Regions from separate parts of the Homo sapiens genome. Here all the other regions are linked to region 2. The links are contacts of gene promoters, found by promoter capture Hi-C in human tissues and cell types (Jung and others, 2019). All regions are on one chromosome and are shown on one strand. The core of a region is centred on a gene start or on the middle of the fragment in contact, and the rest is flanking DNA. Distances in the headings are between cores, read along the strand shown.

Region 1 (4,380 bases), core at 814-3,313, 400 kb before region 2:
GGACTAGAGCCACTCACCACACCTACCATGGACCCTTCATGGAAGTGGGATGCCCAGGGTAGGAGTACATCTTTTATTTTGCAATAAAAAAAAAAGTTTGGATTTTTTTTTTAAAGGACTGCCTCACTCTGTTACCCAGGCTGGAGTGCAGTGGCACGATCATGGCTCACTGTAACCTCAGACTCTCAGCCTCCCCTCTAGCTGGGACTGCAAGTGCAAACTACCACGCCTGGCTATTCTTTTATTTTTTTGCAAGGACGAGGTCCTTGCTATATTGCCCAGGATGTTCTCCAACTCCTGGCCTCAAGCGATCCTCCTGCCTTTGCCTCCCAAAAGCGCTGGGATTACAGGAGTGAGCCACCGTGCCTGGCCTGGAATTTATTACAAATAAAATACAAGCTCAGTGTGGAAACACTAGATAATACAGAGGGGCAAAAGTTAGAAAAAGTTTCTATACCTTCCCTACTCCCCACCCCCGACCCCCATTCAGAAAGAAGCACTGTTGACACTTCAATGCATATTCTGAACTCCAGGTCCTTTCTTTGCATACATCAAGCTCTCATCCTCTTGCTGGCTCTGTGGTCTGCAAACCCAGAGAGCAGATGCTTTGCTCAGCGCTCGTACCACGCCACGCACCCACATGCTCTCTTTGTACCTGGGTTTCAACCCACAGGTCGGGCCCCTGTAAGCCCTTGGCTCCCCAAGCTTCTCGAGGGCAGGCACTGTAACCTTCTTTACTCATTCCAGGGATTCTACAGGACCAGGCACACGGTAAGAGCTCAATAAAAACGTCTCTACCCCCACCACCTCCCGCCTCAGCCGCCACCGCTTGGCAGCAGAGAGGAAGCGGAACGCGCGCGACCCACGAGGGAGAGCGCCTCGCTGTCTCCAAGGTAACCGAAGTCAGTGGCAGGGAGTGCCCACGCATGCGCACACTCGCCCTTCCTTCCCGTAACCTCGAGAACGCAGCTGGTAAGACTGCCAGAAGCCGAGGGCGCATGTGTGGTTCCACCAACACCCTAGTCGCCTCCGCCTTCTGTCAGTCCGCCCGCCCAGCGATCTCCCTTCTACAAACATCGTCCGGAAATAGTGCCCATTTCTGGAAACCAGGCCTCGTTAACCAATCGTTGCTAGGGAGCGGGAAGACGGGCTTGCCGGGACGACCGTCTCATTGGTTGGCGTAGGGGAGTGGGCGGGGCCACGGGTCGCGGTGCGGCCAAAGAAAGGAGGCGCGAAGCGAGGCAAAGTTACAGCCTCCGGGGGAGGCGTGGCCCCGGGGGCGGCCGAGAAGGCGAGGGGGCGGAGCCCGGGACCGGGGCGGGGCGACCACGGGCCGGGAGCTCAGCGGTCGGCGGCCGGCGGCGGGAGATCGCGGGCGAGCGGAGCGCAACACTCGCTTGGTTGGGGAGATCGGCGCTTGGCCGGTAGGTGACGGGGCGGGACCCTGGGGCCCGGTGCGAGGCGACCAGGGAGCGGCTGGGATGGATCGCCTCTCAGCCCCGGGCTGGGCTGCGGCCTGGCCCCTCGCCCCGGAGCAGTGGGGTCGGCGGCCAGGCCAGCGCAGTCCGACGTACCCCGTCCAACCCACTCGCAGCGGTCCGCGGGCGCGCCCTCGCACGCGCTGCCGGTGCCGCGCTCGCCCCGGGCCTCCAGGCCGCGCACTCCTGCTGGCCACACGCTGGCTCCGAGCGCGCGCAGGGGCCGCCTGCTTCCCCTTCACTAGTGCCCCGCGCCGCCGCCAGGCCCGCCCGCCTGCTCTGCGCCCCAGTGCCCCCAGGATGGAGCTCGCCTGCCGCGGGGCGGACGTGTCTCCTGCAGGAGTGCGCCCTGGCATCTGCCCTGGCGTGAAACCCTCCCGGCCTTTCATGGGAAGTTCTCAGGTCACACCTCAAGGCGGGGAGCAGGAGCTAAGCCTGTCCTCAGCATGCAGCGGGGCAGTGCTGGCCGCCCGCAGCATCCTCCCTCCGCCCTCGGACCCCAGTCCTCCTCTGTAATTCTTCTGGGCTCTCCAACTCGGGACTTTATCTGTCGGTTCAAATATAACATTCCCATCTTGGAAACCCATCGTGGCCCTGGCATCTTGCAGCCACTGGGCACCAGGCAGAGAGGGGCCACTTGTACGTACGTTTCCCACCTGCCCGGGAGCCTCCTTAGTGCTGGGTAGCTTCAGAAAAAGTGTTTCCTTCCTAGTCGAGGTTAAAAAGTTGCTCTCGGCCCTAAAGGGTGGACTGGAGGTATGAATGAGGGAGAGGATAAGTGGTGAAAAGGTACATACATCAGCAAAGTAAATGGTAAAACTACTTTTGATCGCTGGAGACAATGAACACCAATGACTTAATTAAGGACTTTAAAAGCACATGAAATTAAATGATTAGAGTGAGGTCATGATATAAAATAGGAGTCTGGAGTTTATTCCAAGAAAAATGTTGGAAACCCCTTGACTAGAAACATGGTCTTTCTGAAAGATTAGAAGGAGACAGTATCTTAACATTAGTGATGTGTTTTTTGCTTAGTGTCTTCATACCTGTGAGCTCCGTTTTCCTTCAGATGGCTGTGTGGTAAGACAGATTGTAGTGTCTTGTTTTATGGGCGAGGCACCTGAGGCAGGTGTGTATGAGGGAGTGGGGGTGGTATATATCTTGCCTGATGCCTCATAGCTGGGACTAAGGATGGGTCTTTCCCAGAATCCTAGATCAGGACCACATTATAGAACTGAGATGCAGAAAGGAGGGAGAAGTTTTTGGTGTGGTTTTTATGCTCTTAATGTGAGAGGACACTTAAAAAGTGCTTGCCTTACTTTGGTTGTGTTTGGATTTACTCTTGGTGTTTTTTAAGTGATATCAATCAGTTTCTTTGGAGCGATGCCAGACCTCTGAATTTTTCAGACACCTTTCGGACATCCTTATTTATTTTGAAGGGTGTGGAGAACTTCTCAGAAGATCTCAAAATAAAAGTAATCGTCTCTGACTCTAATTTTAGAGATAAGTACCCAGGTATGTGTACCAGCTCTTTGTGAAATCAGACAGCAAGACGCTGCCAAGCTTCAGGCCATCTTCTGAGTGTTTTCTGATTATAAGAAGCAGTTCTGAAGGGGGTTTTTTGTCATTGGTATTGTCTGTTAAGAGTTTGTGGGAGCGGCACCACAGAGACCCTGCCAAATCAGTCTCCCTCTATTAAACAAAAATGTCTGGTTGGGCTGTTTCGCCTCAACAGATGAAGGTTTGGTTCCTCATTTTGGTTCTCCTGTTGAACACTGACTCCTTTGTGATCTGCCTGGAATATGTGTATATCATTTACTGCTGAGAAGATGGCTTGCGCTGATTGGTTGTCCAGCCCTCGGCAACTGTTGTGATTTTTTTTTTTTTTTTGGTGATTGATAACAGTTCATCCCTGGCTAGGGTCTGGTGAGAGATCTGCGGAGATGTGAAAGAGATGAAAGCTTTATCCAGGGTTGTTTTCTTCGTTGTTGGCACCCTCTGAACAGTGTTGTATCACTTTGGCCTGTGAAGGCACTTTTAACTTCCTATTTTTTTTCCTGTCTCAATGGACAGCACATGGGCTTTCCTAACAAGCCTGCCTGCCTCGATGAAGAGCTGACAGATTCATATTGGTTGGTTTGACAGATGTTCTTTCTGGGGGGAAAGTTCAGAAATCTTAAAAGCAAAGTCAGTCCTAAGTAAAAAGTCTAAGTCAGCCCAATACGCATAAAGGCAGCGTACTTCTACTAATGGCTTCCATCATCTCAAGGTTGTTTTTTTTTTTTTCCTGGCAAAAGGTTAAAATGCAACTAAAATTCTGCTTTCGTGATTAATAAGTCACTACCACAGTTGTGTCTGATGCTTCCTGTTTGCCCCATTTTAGTATTTCAGTTAAACTGGAAACATCTGAGCATTATGGGCACTATTGATGGCACCAGTGTGAAATTGGTGGGCCGGGGACAATTCCATGTCAGTGGATTTAGGGAGCTCTAAGGATGTCAGCCCCTCTGGTCTCCACACACCAGGATTCCCTAGTAAGGGAACAGAATGGGGCTGAGCATCTGCAAGAGCTGGGTGGGCATTCAAAGTGATGCATGTGTGAAGGTTTTGCATTTACTCGGTGATGCTGGCTAAAATGCTGAAAGTAGTAGCCCAAAAAGGGAAGGCCAGACGTAGGGCAAATTGTAGGGGAGCATTTCTGTTGAGCTGAGCAGGACATTGAAGTATGAGATTTTTTTGTTCTGGGCTTATGACTGCCTGAATGACAATGCAGAAAAAGTCATTTTTCTTCAGTGGCCGGTGTGCTCTTTGTATTCTAGTTTAAAGGAGCCTCTTCCCTTCTTGCTTTTCTACATGTCTTAATCCCTCAGCTCCCTGATAGAAATCCCTTGAAATTATGTGG
Region 2 (4,182 bases), core at 1,683-4,182:
CTGGGCCTATGACAGGGGTCCACGGAGGTGGCTGATGGCAAAAGCTGGGGGACTCCAACTGCTGATGCTGAAACAAGCTTGTGTCTCACATACACAGGGACAGTTCACTGAGCTTCAATGACAGGCACCTCCTGCTCATCACATCTTTTCTCTCTAGGACAGCTTTGCCCTTATTTTAACTAGACTTCCCTTGAACCAAAAGGGAAGGCTACATGCTGTGACTTGCTGGGCAGCCTGGAAAGGCGGGCCACTCCTAGCCACAGAGATGAGACAGAGTTCAGACAAGAGCTTATCCCCAGTCTTCCTTTTCTATTTTGTTTATTTTATTTTATTTTTTTATTTATTGAGACAGAGTCTCTGTCACCCAGGCTGGGGTGCAGTGATGCGACATTGGCTTACTGCAGTCTCCACCTCCTGGGCTCAGGTGATCCTCCCACCTCAGCCTCCCGAATAGCTGGGATCACAGTAGTGCACCACCATACCTGGCTAATTTTTTTGTATTTTTTGTACAGACAAAATTTCACCACATTGCCCAGGCTGGTCTCGAACTCCTGGACTCAAGCGATCCGCCCACCTCAGCCTCCCAAAGTGCTCGGATTACAGGCATGAGCCACTATGCCCAGCCTTGCTCTTCCTTTAAAGCCTCCTGTCCTTCCCCAGGTCCCCAGTTCATAGCAGGATCAAAGGTCACTGGGCGCTCACCCCGTCTTCAAGATGCTCTTTCCTATGTCACTGCTTACGCCCAGGTCAGATGTGACTAGAGCCTAAGGAGCTCCCACCTCCCTCTCTGTGCTGGGACTCACAGAGGGAGACCTCAGGAGGCAGTCTGTCCATCACATGTCCAAATGCAGAGCATACCCTGGGCTGGGCGCAGTGGCGCACAACTGTAATTCCAGCACTTTGGGAGGCTGATGTGGAAGGATCACTTGAGCCCAGAAGTTCTAGACCAGCCTGGGCAACATGGCAAGACCCTATCTCTACAAAAAAAGTTAAAAAATCAGCCACGTGTGGTGACACACACCTGTAGTCCCAGCTATTCAGGAGGCTGAGGTGAGGGGATCACTTAAGGCTGGGAGGTTGAGGCTGCAGTGAGTCGTGGTTGCGCCACTGCACTCCAGCCTGGGCAACAGTGAGACCCTGTCTCAAAAGACAAAAAAAAAAAAAAAAAAAAAAAGAACATATCCTGGTGTGGAGTAGGGGACGCTGCTCTGACAGAGGCTCGGGGGCCTGAGCTGGCTCTGTGAGCTGGGGAGGAGGCAGACAGCCAGGCCTTGTCTGCAAGCAGACCTGGCAGCATTGGGCTGGCCGCCCCCCAGGGCCTCCTCTTCATGCCCAGTGAATGACTCACCTTGGCACAGACACAATGTTCGGGGTGGGCACAGTGCCTGCTTCCCGCCGCACCCCAGCCCCCCTCAAATGCCTTCCGAGAAGCCCATTGAGCAGGGGGCTTGCATTGCACCCCAGCCTGACAGCCTGGCATCTTGGGATAAAAGCAGCACAGCCCCCTAGGGGCTGCCCTTGCTGTGTGGCGCCACCGGCGGTGGAGAACAAGGCTCTATTCAGCCTGTGCCCAGGAAAGGGGATCAGGGGATGCCCAGGCATGGACAGTGGGTGGCAGGGGGGGAGAGGAGGGCTGTCTGCTTCCCAGAAGTCCAAGGACACAAATGGGTGAGGGGACTGGGCAGGGTTCTGACCCTGTGGGACCAGAGTGGAGGGCGTAGATGGACCTGAAGTCTCCAGGGACAACAGGGCCCAGGTCTCAGGCTCCTAGTTGGGCCCAGTGGCTCCAGCGTTTCCAAACCCATCCATCCCCAGAGGTTCTTCCCATCTCTCCAGGCTGATGTGTGGGAACTCGAGGAAATAAATCTCCAGTGGGAGACGGAGGGGTGGCCAGGGAAACGGGGCGCTGCAGGAATAAAGACGAGCCAGCACAGCCAGCTCATGTGTAACGGCTTTGTGGAGCTGTCAAGGCCTGGTCTCTGGGAGAGAGGCACAGGGAGGCCAGACAAGGAAGGGGTGACCTGGAGGGACAGATCCAGGGGCTAAAGTCCTGATAAGGCAAGAGAGTGCCGGCCCCCTCTTGCCCTATCAGGACCTCCACTGCCACATAGAGGCCATGATTGACCCTTAGACAAAGGGCTGGTGTCCAATCCCAGCCCCCAGCCCCAGAACTCCAGGGAATGAATGGGCAGAGAGCAGGAATGTGGGACATCTGTGTTCAAGGGAAGGACTCCAGGAGTCTGCTGGGAATGAGGCCTAGTAGGAAATGAGGTGGCCCTTGAGGGTACAGAACAGGTTCATTCTTCGCCAAATTCCCAGCACCTTGCAGGCACTTACAGCTGAGTGAGATAATGCCTGGGTTATGAAATCAAAAAGTTGGAAAGCAGGTCAGAGGTCATCTGGTACAGCCCTTCCTTCCCTTTTTTTTTTTTTTTTTTGTGAGACAAGGTCTCTCTCTGTTGCCCAGGCTGGAGTGGCGCAAACACAGCTCACTGCAGCCTCAACCTACTGGGCTCAAGCAATCCTCCAGCCTCAGCCTCCCAAAGTGCTGGGATTACAAGCATGAGCCACCCCACTCAGCCCTTTCCTTCCTTTTTAATTGATGCATAATAATTGTAAGTATTCATCATGGTCCAACCAACCCTTTCTTGACCCACCTTCCTAGAGAGAGGGTCCTCTTGCTTCAGCGGTCAGGGCCCCAGACCCATGGTCTGGCTCCAGGTACCACCTGCCTCATGCAGGAGTTGGCGTGCCCAGGAAGCTCTGCCTCTGGGCACAGTGACCTCAGTGGGGTGAGGGGAGCTCTCCCCATAGCTGGGCTGCGGCCCAACCCCACCCCCTCAGGCTATGCCAGGGGGTGTTGCCAGGGGCACCCGGGCATCGCCAGTCTAGCCCACTCCTTCATAAAGCCCTCGCATCCCAGGAGCGAGCAGAGCCAGAGCAGGATGGAGAGGAGACGCATCACCTCCGCTGCTCGCCGCTCCTACGTCTCCTCAGGGGAGATGATGGTGGGGGGCCTGGCTCCTGGCCGCCGTCTGGGTCCTGGCACCCGCCTCTCCCTGGCTCGAATGCCCCCTCCACTCCCGACCCGGGTGGATTTCTCCCTGGCTGGGGCACTCAATGCTGGCTTCAAGGAGACCCGGGCCAGTGAGCGGGCAGAGATGATGGAGCTCAATGACCGCTTTGCCAGCTACATCGAGAAGGTTCGCTTCCTGGAACAGCAAAACAAGGCGCTGGCTGCTGAGCTGAACCAGCTGCGGGCCAAGGAGCCCACCAAGCTGGCAGACGTCTACCAGGCTGAGCTGCGAGAGCTGCGGCTGCGGCTCGATCAACTCACCGCCAACAGCGCCCGGCTGGAGGTTGAGAGGGACAATCTGGCACAGGACCTGGCCACTGTGAGGCAGAAGTGAGGAGGGGATGGGGAAGGGGGGCCTTGTGAGCAGAAGGGGCTGAATCCCCAAGAAGGAGTGCCCGAGAAGTCTCAGGGAGGGGCCGAACCTCCCTGCTCCCTGGGCCTCCCTACCTCTTGATGGGGCACTATCCTTGCCCCCCAACATGATGGGAGGGACCAGAAACAGGCCCAGGGCCCCGGGGATCTGATGCCCGCATGCCTTCTGCCAGGAGTCCAGGGTCCCCTCAGCACCTCCCTACTGGGGAAAGCAGTGCAGGAGCAGCGGGGCCCCTGTGTTTCATTCATGGCTGGGCTTTGTGACTGTGGGCAGCGAGCTCACCTATTCTGAGCCTGTGTCCATATAAAGGAGGAGTTGGAAGCGGAGAAGGTTGATGTCCATGAGGGAGATTGGATTCTGGGGTGAAGAAAGTGAGGGAAAGAGCAGGCAGGTCTGGGCGCAAAGCACAGGTGACTGCCTGCCACCAGCTTGTGACCCCCATCAAGTTACTTTGACTTGCACAGCTGTGAAGCGGTGGTCATAATAAAATTCATTTCAAAAGGTGGTTACCTGGGATCAGAGGAATCCCCAGGGGCATGGCGCTTCACTGAGCTGACAGGACATGCATGTGTGCCTTCAAGTGCAGGAGGACATGTGCGTGTGTGTGTGTGTGTGTGCAACAGTGAGTGTATGCTTGTGGATGCGCCTGTGTGAGCAGAAGCAGGTGCACCAACCCTGATAAGGCACCTTAGTAATGAGTTAAGGCAAAAGCCCACATCTGCTCATCCTCCAG
Region 3 (4,467 bases), core at 814-3,313, 470 kb after region 2:
CCGTCTCTACTAAAAATACAAAAAATTAGCCACCTGGTGGCGGGCACCTGTAATCCCAGCTACTCAGGAGGCTTGAGGCAGGAGAATCGCTTGAACCTAGGAAGTGAAGGTTGCAGTGAGCCGAGATCGCGCTGTTGCACTCCAGCCTAGGCAACAAGAGTGAAACTCCATCTTAGGGGGGGAAAAAAAAAAAAGAAAAAGAAATACTCACATAGATTGGAGCTCACTGGTAATTTTTGGTCTACCTACATGTATATAGGAGTGTACTGGGTACTTGAAGGAAGCCATTAATTTTTACTGTGACCTGTTTTTTAAAAAGAGGAAAAATGTTTTCAGAATTTCTAACAGACCACTTACCCTAAACCTAATTTCCTGGAAAACACCATTATTATGGGGGCTGACTTGAGGTTTTCCTTCACTGAAACTGGTTATGGCAACTTTCCAATTCAGTTTTTTAAAAGTTTGTCGATATATGTTGAATGTAAGTTCTTTAGTATTTTTTTCTTAAACATTTGATGCTTCCTTCTCCTTGACTACTGAGTGATAACAAGAAATGAAATTGAACAAGCCTTAAGGCTCTAATGACCAGTAATGTAAAACTCAAATATTTCATTATAAAAGTTTACATATTTTTTGATATATGGAGACCTTTCTAATATAGTGATATGTTCTACTTGATAAAATAATTCCTTGATTATGAGAGTTAAATCATTAGTATCTTGTGATGTTAAGCGGCGCGCATCATGATGACTAAGTATTTACAGTTGAACAAGTTTCAGACCCGCTACGAACATGTTCATTCTCTGAGTCAACAAATGCTTTTTAACTAAATGCCATTCTGGCCTACATACTGTGTCAGATATGGATATAAACATAAGTAAAACTCAGGGCACAAAAGTGCTACCACTTTTTTTCCCCCCGTGAGATGGAGATTCTCTCTTGTTGCCCCAGACTGGAGTGCAATGGTGTGATCTCGGCTCACTGCAACTTCTGCCTCCCAGTTTCAAGTGATTCTCCTGCCTCAGCCTCCCAAGTAGCTGGGATTACAGGAACATGCCACCACGCCCAGCTAATTTTTGTATTTTAAATGCAGACGAGGTTTTGCCATGTTGGCCAGGCTGATCTCGACCTCCTGACCTCAAGTAGTCTGCCTGCCTTGGCCTCCCACAGTGCTGGGATTACAGCCGTGAGCCACCATGCCTGGCCTTTTTTTTTTCTTTAAACTAAAGACTTAACTGTTTTTTTCCGTATCTCCTCAGCCCCATGTTTTAGACTATTTTACCCCAAAATTGTATTTATTAATTTGGCTTTCCCATTTGAAAAAACAAATTGATCTTAGCATGGTGGTTAGCTTGAGGCAATCTTTAGTGAGTCAGTATAATTTTAGCTAAAACAGTTGTATCTCATGTAAAAGTATGATTTTCTTTAGGTTTTTTTTTTTTAATTGAAAGTAACTCATGAATTCTCTTTATTATCTCTTCTAAGGGCTTGAGGATATCATGTTATCCCTGGATGAGATATCCTTCCCAGGCCTAACATTCTGATTTAACAACACTTTCACTAAAGCCTTTTGCCCCACCTTTGTTCCTGTTTATTAATATATTTAGTTATATGATTAAAATTGAACTATTTTATCCTAGATGGAAAGTATCAGATGGAAATTCGTTTAGGTCATAATTAAACTTGTGTGCCTTAGAAAACATCTGTATTTGAAAATCAAATTGGCCAGGCACCATGGCTCATGTCTGTAATCCCAGCACCTTGTGGGGCCAAAGTGGGCAAATTGCTTGAGCTCAGAAGTTCAAGAACAAACTGGGCGGGCAACATGGTGAAATCCCGTCTCTACAAAAAATAACAAGAATTAGCCACATGTGGTGGTGTGCACCTGTAGTCCCAGCTTCTTAGGAAGCTGAGATGGGAGGATTACTTGAGCCCAGGAGGTTGAGGCTGCAGTGAGCCGTGGTTATGCCACTGCACTCCAGCCTGGGCGATGGTGAGACCCTGTTTTAAAAAATAAATAAAGGAAGAAAAAAATCAAATTAATTTGGTTGTTGTATAGGTCACTAAAAAGGCCATGGCAAGAATATAGTAGGTTTTTGTAGTACTGGATAATTTGAACTCTATTTTGGGTAGAAAGTTTTTCCTTTTTTTTTAAACCTTAAAAACTCTCTAGGGATTAAGTAATGTGCTCAATGTTTTCAGTTAATGTTTTCTGAGAGGTAGCATATATCATATGTTAGAGTTGCTTAGAAAAATATCTAAACGATGCTGAAAGTAATAATTGTTTCTATGCCACCTAAAGACTCATTTTCAGGAGAAATTTGCAAAAATTAAGCTTTGGTTTGGAAATAAATGTACCATTTTTTATTCAGTGTTTCTGAAAGTTTCATGTGATCACAGTTTCAATAAATGAAATGATATTTAAGTCCATTAACATGACTTGAATCCTATTTTGAATACTTTTGCAAATCAGAGAATCACCTGCGTAATTTTTTTTATCTTGATTTTCACATATGTATTTGCATTACTTAAAAAGAAGAAATAAGTACTTTAAAGATGTCAGTGTAGGTTCTTGGCCTTTATCAGTTTAATGGTCTTTTTTCCCCTCTTTTCTCTTTTTCGACAAGGTTTTTCTCTGTCACCCAGGCTGGAGTGCAGTGGTGCGATGATAGCTCACTCCAGCTCCTGGGCTCAAGTGGTCCTTCTGCCTCAATATTTTCAGTGGCTAGGACTGCAGGTGCATGCCACCATGCCCAGCTAATTTTTTTAAGAAAAATTTTTTGGAGAGACAGAGTCTTGCTCTATTGCCCAGTATGGTCTCAAACTCCTGTCCTCAAGGCATCTTCCTGCCTTGGCCTCCCCAAGTGCTGGGATTACAGGCGTGAGCCACCAAGCCCAGCCCAGTTTTAATTGTCTTTTGAAAGTGGATTTTAGGCCGGGCTCATTGGCTTACACCTGTAATCCCAGCACTTTGGAGGCTGAGGTGAGCAGATCACTCAAGCCCAGGAGTTTGAGACCAGCCTGAGCAATATGGTGAAACCCCATCTCTACTAAAAATACAAAAATTAGCCAGATGTAGTGGCAGGCACTTGTAGTGTCAGCTACTCAGGAGGCCTAGAGGCAAGAATTGCTTGAGCCTGGAAGCTGGAATTTACAGTGAGCGGAGATGGCACCACAGCACTCCAGCCTGGGTGACTTAGCAAGATCCTGTCTCAAAAAAAACATGGATTTTGTGACTTTTTGATGGCTTTTATATTTACTTGCACTTCATTAAGGTCGTCTTTAAAGACAACTTTAGATATCTTTAAAAGACAACTTCAGACATTTTTAAGCTTTTTTAACTGCTTATGCATTAGCTTCACAAATGTTCTGTTTTCTCTCATTCTCAGCTGAAGTTCCAGCTGGTCAGATTACTCTATTTTGCCTATTTATTGGTAATTCATGGAACGTGGTGCTGCGGTTGTGGTGTTTTTTTTTTTTTTTACATCATCACTATATGCAGTGCCCAGAACAGTGCCTTGAATATAGTAGAAACTCTCTTTCTCTCTCTCCTTCTCTCTCTCTCTCTCTCTCTATATATATATATATGTATATATATACGTATACATATACACACATATATATGTGTATATATATATTATTTTATTTTATTTTATTTTTGTCTCTTTGAGACAGAGTTTCACTCTTGTTGCCCAGTCTGGAGTGCGATGGTACGATGTCAGCTCACTGCAACCTCCGCCTCCCGGGTTTAAGCGATTCTCCTGCCTCAGCCTCCCAAGTAGCTAGGATTACAGGCATGCACCACCATGCCCAGCTAATTTTGTATTTTTAGTAGATACAGGGTTTCACCATGTTGGTCAGGCTGGTCTTGAACTCCTGACCTCAGGTGATCCACCCGCCTCGGCCTCCCAAATTGCTGGGATTACAGGCCTGAGCCACCGTGCCCGGGCTTTTGATTTTTTTGGGGGGCGGGGGGAAGGAGTGTCGTTGTGTTGCCCAGGCTGGAGTGCAGTGGTGCAATCTTAGCTAACTGCAACCTCTGCCTCCCGGGTTAAAGTGATTCTCCTGCCCCAGCCTCCTGAGTAGCTGGGATTACAGGTGCCCGCCACCACGCCCAGCTAATTTTTGTGTTTTTAGTAGAGATGGGGTTTCACCATGTTGGCCAGGCTGGTCTCGAACTCCTGACCTCAAGTGATCTGCCCGCCTCAGCCTCCCACAGTGCTGGGATTACAGGCATGAGCCACCATGCCTAGCCAAAACTCAATATTTGTTGTAAATGTTTGTATTGAATCTCTGTAAGGGGAAAGCAGCAGAGATGCATTGTGGTGTTCTTACATCTTACATTGTGGTATTCTTACATCTGTTGACAATTCAACCAGTGTTTTAATCACTGTAGAAGCTTCTTCCTTTCTAATTTGTTTCTGCAGGGAAATCATATGTCTTCTGTTTCTAAAGTATGGCTGATTA

The links. The method cuts DNA at HindIII sites, captures the fragments that hold promoters and counts their contacts. A contact is called where the count stands out against the background at its distance.
Region 1: a fragment that was not itself captured here is called in contact with the fragment with the promoter of GFAP in region 2 in 1 of the 25 tissues and cell types used here (bladder).
Region 3: a contact is called between a fragment that was not itself captured here and the fragment with the promoter of GFAP in region 2, in 1 of the 25 tissues and cell types used here (dorsolateral prefrontal cortex).

The regions. Positions count from the first base shown.
Region 1 is chr17:45,314,004-45,318,383 of GRCh38, reverse strand. It overlaps MAP3K14 (mitogen-activated protein kinase kinase kinase 14), which reads left to right and starts at 1,364. Exons shown (of 16, transcript NM_003954.5): 1 at 1,364-1,424. The HindIII fragment of the contact is 4,566 bases long and covers 1-4,346 here.
Region 2 is chr17:44,914,250-44,918,431 of GRCh38, reverse strand. GFAP (glial fibrillary acidic protein) reads left to right here and starts at 2,932. Exons shown (of 9, transcript NM_002055.5): 1 at 2,932-3,406. The coding sequence starts at 2,946. The HindIII fragment of the contact is 9,658 bases long and covers 1-4,182 here.
Region 3 is chr17:44,441,230-44,445,696 of GRCh38, reverse strand. All of the region lies in intron 3 of GPATCH8 (G-patch domain containing 8), which reads left to right. Among named protein-coding and RNA genes, the nearest start is that of ITGA2B, 54 kb to the right of the region's middle. The HindIII fragment of the contact is 3,607 bases long and covers 260-3,866 here.